Linked DNA regions of Homo sapiens: region 1 is linked to region 2. Evidence: promoter capture Hi-C in 16 types of primary human blood cells and fetal thymus (Javierre and others, 2016). All regions are on one chromosome and are shown on one strand. Each heading gives the region's core, a stretch centred on a gene start or on the middle of the fragment in contact. The rest is flanking DNA. Distances are from core to core; before and after follow the strand shown. Region 1 holds the start of JAGN1 (jagunal vesicle mediated transporter 1). Region 2 has its middle 4.0 kb from the start of IRAK2.

What was found. The method cuts DNA at HindIII sites, captures the fragments that hold promoters and counts their contacts. A CHiCAGO score of 5 or more calls a contact.
Region 1: the fragment with the promoter of JAGN1 here is called in contact with a fragment that was not itself captured in region 2 in 1 of 17 cell types (activated CD4 T cells); the score reaches 7.6 in activated CD4 T cells.

What each region holds. Positions count from the first base shown.
Region 1 is chr3:9,889,287-9,891,986 of GRCh38, reverse strand. It overlaps JAGN1 (jagunal vesicle mediated transporter 1), which reads right to left and starts at 1,377. Exons shown (of 2, transcript NM_032492.4): 1 at 1,176-1,377. The coding sequence starts at 1,264. The HindIII fragment of the contact is 18,772 bases long and covers 1-2,700 here.
Region 2 is chr3:10,159,608-10,162,307 of GRCh38, reverse strand. No RefSeq gene overlaps it. Among named protein-coding and RNA genes, the nearest start is that of IRAK2, 4.0 kb to the left of the region's middle. The HindIII fragment of the contact is 1,059 bases long and covers 832-1,890 here.

The DNA of each region.
Region 1 (2,700 bases), core at 128-2,627, 270 kb after region 2:
CTCAGAGCTGTGTTTAGCAAGAGGACGCTGACTGCACCATAGGATTAAAGTCTGGCGGGAGAAGGTATTGGCAGAGAGGAAACGTACTCAGGCCGCCCATACTTCTCCAGCTAGATTTTTTCATCCAAAAGAAGTACATACTTATCTTATTCTTCTAATTCTCTCACGTCCCAAACGTATCCTCCTCATATCCCTAAAGGCAATGTTTCTACTCTGGGCTGGCATGAAAACACCTGCTTAAGTTGTGAGGGCCCTTTCAGCCGGGGCCTAGAGATGTGAAACAAATGAGAGTTCAAAGAGCTTGTCATTCTTTAAAACTCTGGAGAGAGAGATGTGAAGAACATTCTGGGAGAGATCAATGGATTTAAGGAAGTAAAAATTTTAAAATTTTTATTTAAAAATATTTATTGTAGAAAATGTGGAAAGGTTGGAAAAAAAAAACAGTCATCTCTAGACTTCAAGCTCCATGAAGGCAGGGAACAGTTTTTTTTTTCTTTAATAAAATTGTTTATTGAAGGTATAACATGTATACAAAGACCACGTCTGCTTTTGCTCACTATTATAACCTAGTGTCTAGCAGTGTATGATGTTTGGAAGCTCAGTATTTGTCGAACTAGTAATTGAATGTAGAAATACCCCTTACGTGGGAGTGTTTATAAAATTCATTTTAGGCAAGGCGTCCTTAGGAAAGGCTGCCTTTTACTGTCTATATCCCCCCAAACGGCCCAAAATATAACACCTACCATATATTACGTGGTAGGCCTTATGCTACTTTCTTTACACGAATTACTGATTAATCTTTCACCAAAACCTAAAAGGCAGATTATTCTCTCCCTCTACAGATGAGGAAGCTGAGGCTCAAATTAGAAATTCGGTTTCGAAGGTGATACAGCGGGGCCAGCATCGACGTGACTCGGGAGCCCACGCAGGGCGGGAGCCCACGCGGGGCTGGATCCCCTCAAGGCACCGGGCGGAACAAGGGGTGGAGCTCGCGGGGGCCACGGGGCTTTCCAGGATGGGGGACAGGCCCGAAGCCGTCACGGGAGGAGGGGACTTGGCAGGTGAGCGGGGGCTGGCTGGGGAGCAAGACCCTGAGGCCGGGCCGGCGTCGCTCCCCAAGCCCCGCAGGCTCCAGCGGGGGAGAAAGCCTCCGTGCTCCTCGCCTCACTTCATACCTCATCTGGTAGTGCATGGCGACGCGCTCCCGGTGCTGAAAGTCGCTGCCGTCGGTGCCGGCCGCTCGCGGGCCTGCTCGAGACGCCATTGTGCCTGCCCAGAACCCCCGAACCCCTCACGCGGACCTGGTACCGCAACGACACCGCCAAGCGGCCCACTGACCCTATTTGCGCCCCCGCAGCCGCGCGGCTCCGTGAAGAGAACTTCCGGCCCCTCTGTCTCTGGAGGACCGACTCTATGGTCACTCCTCTCCGCGCAGGCGCCCTCGTTCCCTCTCGCCCCCGCCCCGCCCAGCCCCGCCTCTTGTGGAGCGCGCAGGAAATTAATCCCCAGCCTCTTTTGCTGGCGCCCAGAGGCCGCTTGAACACTTTTACTTTCTTAAGCTGTAATATCAGTTAGGATACTTCTGTCCACACTTTACAGAGGGGGAAACTGATATATTCTATGACTTTCCCTGGAGCACACATCATTCACACAGCCTCACACCTTTAATCCCAGCACTTTGGGAGGCCGAGGTGGGTGGATCACTTGATGTCAGGAGTTCAAGACCAGCCTGGGCAACATGGTGAAATCCCGTCTCTACTAAAAATACAAAAATTAGCCAGGTGTGGTGGGTTCCTGTGACCCCAGCTACTTGGGTGGCTGAGGCAGGAGAATCGCTTGAACCAGGGAGGCAGAGGTTGCAGTAAGTCGAGATTGTGCCAATGCACTCCAGCCTGGGGGACAGAGTGCAGAGTGAGACTTTGTCTCAAAATAAGTTTCTCACATTTAATTATTGCAAAGAGAAACAGGGAATCTCTCAGTGAGGAAATCTGGCTTGTCTCCCTTAAACATATAGTCAGTTAATTTGATCAATAATGAGATAAACTGATATCTTGTGCCTCTTTTAATAGACTGAGGACACAGCATCACTTCTATGATGTTTCTGCCAAAAATACCTAACTGAATCTAATCATGAAGAAATGACATAAATCCAGACGGAGGGACAGTCTAGAAGAGAGCTGGACTGTACTCTTCAAAAATGTCAAGGCCATGAAAGAAAAATTATTTCCAAATAAACTTTATCTGTAGAGACAAAGTAGAATGACCATTGCCAGAAGCTCGAGGGGTGGACAGAGAATGGGGAGCTAGTGTTTAATGGGTACAGAGCTTCAGTTCGGGAAGATGAAAAAAGTTCTGGAGATGGATGGTGGTACTGATTGCACAACTATATGTGTGTGCTTAATGCCACGGAAACTGTACACTTAAAAATGATTAACATAGTAAGTTTTATGTTATGTGCATTTTACCACAACAAAATACTAAGCGAAACTTTAAAGAAAGAAGTTATATTATCCGAATAAAGAAAAAAAGAAAGAAAAAAGCATGTATAGTGAGCATCTTCCATGCACCAGGATGCTCTGCTATGACCTGGGGACGCAGAAATAAACATGGTCCATTTCCCCTGAGGGATCCCAGCCCAGTCGGGGGAAGAACTTGTACCCATGAAGCTAAGAAATTCAAGAAAACACAGGAGGCTGAGGG
Region 2 (2,700 bases), core at 112-2,611:
CTGTAAAGTGGGCCTGCTCCTTCCTACTGCTTAGAGTTGTGAGGGGAGTGGAATAAATCAAATTATGTAGCCTATATAGAACACCTACTACAGGGCTTTCCTCGCACAGAGAATGTGCCCAAAAAATGGTAGCTGTCATTAGTGGTCTTGAAAAGGCACCCACTGGCCTTGGAGTCCTATCAAGTTTGGAGACCTGGTTCAGCCACTCTCCGGCTCTTAGTCCTTTGAGCCAGTTCTGTTTTCCCTTTTGGAAACTGGATCTCCTGCTGCAGCCACTTGGAAGGATTGTTATGAAGCCTAAATGGACTCCAAAACGCTCAAGATCAACTGTGAAGTGCTGAGCCCAGTAAAGGATTACTATTATGTCCTCCTTGATGTTGAAAGTGGGACATATTTCAGTGTTCTGAGACTACTTTTCAAGTGAAGTCCTGTGTTTTCAGCAGTGGCTGAAGGTGGACTTGGGAACTGTAATGATTGTTTGCCATAGGCTGGGTGGAGAAGCATCTCCATCCCAGGCACACGGGGGTAAAAGAGAATAAAGATCCTCTTCTTTTTCTCCTTTTCTCTTTTTGCAGAGTCCCCTACCTGCTTCTCCTTCTCTTCCGCAAGCAGCGTGTGTGTAGAGCTCCTCCCTCAGTGCCACAGGGCCTCTTCCCTGGGGTGAGGCTTTAAGACCACGGAAGTTTCACATTCAGCCTTGGTCAATCCTGGAAGGCAGAGGAGCCCCCACTGCTCTCTCTGCTGCATCCTCAGGCCCTTCCCGCAATTCCTTCTCACCCCAGCCTCAGGGCTTGGGATCTGTGTCCTAGGATTCTGTCTTCCAGAGAAGCTTGAGTCATTTTGGGCCTGAGCAGGTCATCACAGGGACACATCTCAGTTACCACTCTTTAGAATAAGTTCTTCAAAGTAAGGTCTTTGCTATTACTAATGGTTGCCCTTCACCTACCAACTCACCTAGCAGGCATTTAGCATACATTATCTGTAATCCATACAACCCTGCAAAGGTTTATTGTTTCTGTTTTACAGATGAAGAAACTGAGGCTGAAGTCAATTGTAACTGGGCCAAGTTGGCCAAGTGACAGTGAGGTAGGGGGCAGCACTCGACTCGAAAGGAATGGCTGGGACATCGGACCAAATTGAGGACTAGCTAAAACAGGTGTGGTGGGAAGTACCTCGCATAAGACACTGCCACCAGTGTACCTTGTCAGTTTACCATTGCCATGGCGACTCCAAGAAGTCACCGCCCCTTTCTAGAATGTTCTGCATAAACTGCCCCTTAATTTGCATATAATTAAAAGTGTGTATAAATGTGACTGTAGAACTGCCTCTGAGCCACTACTCTGGGCACACTGCCTATGGAGTAGCCCTACCCTGCAAGGAGCAGTACCTCTGCTGCGGCTGCACACTGCTATTTCAATAAAAGGTGCTATTTAACACCACTGGCTGGCCCTGGAATTCCTTTCTGGGTGAAGCTAAGAACCCTCCCAGGCTAAACCCCAATTTGGGGGCTTGCCTGTCCCGCATCAACAGGATGCAACTCAAGTCTGACCCAAAGCAAATGCTCTTTCTGCTGTGTTATACTGCCTCACCACAAGAAATTTCCTCTGATCTTGCAGTTAATTTCTTCCTCTGGCTATTTTCCATGACCAACACCCACCAGGATCAGTTAGAAACAGTTATTGAGGCTGAATGTAATTAATTACACACTTACGTCATTTTGAGCTGTTCAAGTTTAATTCCCTTGAAATTATAGTCAGTGGTTTGCAACCCTGGCTGCACAGTAGAAACATCTGGGGTGCTTTTAAAAAGTATAAATGCCTAGCCCTACCTCCAGGGAGACAGATTCAATTATTCTGGAGTGGGGCTCAGGCACTACTGTTTTTTAAAGCTTCCCAGATAATTCTAATATGTGCTGGCACAGTTGAGAACCAGTCATATCAGAAAGCTGGGGCAGAGGCCAAGCATGGTGGCTCATGCCTGCAATCCCAGCACTTTGGGAGACCGAGGTGGGTGGATCACTTGAGGTCAGGAGTTCGAGACCAGCCCAACCAACACGGCGGAACCCCGTTTCTACTAAAAATACAAAAAAATTCGCTGGGCGTGATGGCACGCACCTGTAATCCCAGCTACTTGGGAGGCTGAGGCAGGAGAATCATTTGAACCCGGGAGGTGGAGACTGCACTGAGCCAAGATCATACCACTGCACTCCAGACTGGGGGACACAGTGAGACTCCATATCAAAAAAAAAAAAAAAAAAAAAAAAAAAGCTGGAGCAGGAGGGAAGACTGATGAAAGGAGAATAATAAAGCTTCTCTATGCACTTTGCATATATTTTTCTTTTTTTTTCTCTCTTTTTGAGACGGAGTTTTGCTCTTGTTGCCCAGGCTGGAGTGCACTGGTGTGATCTTGGCTAACCGCAACCCCTGCCTCCTGGGTTCAAGCAATTCTCCTGCCTCAGCCTCCTGAGTAGCTGGGGTTACAGGCATGTGCCACCACACCCAGCTAATTTTGTATTTTGAGTAGATACGAGGTTTCTCCATGTTGGTCAGGCTGGTCTCAAACTCCTGACCTCAGGTGATCCACCCACCTCGGCCTCCCAAAGTGCTGGGATTACAGGCATGAGCCACCGCGCCCGGCTATATTTTTTTTTAACAAAAATATCTTTATTGGTTTCTCTGATAGCATGTGATATTTGTCAAA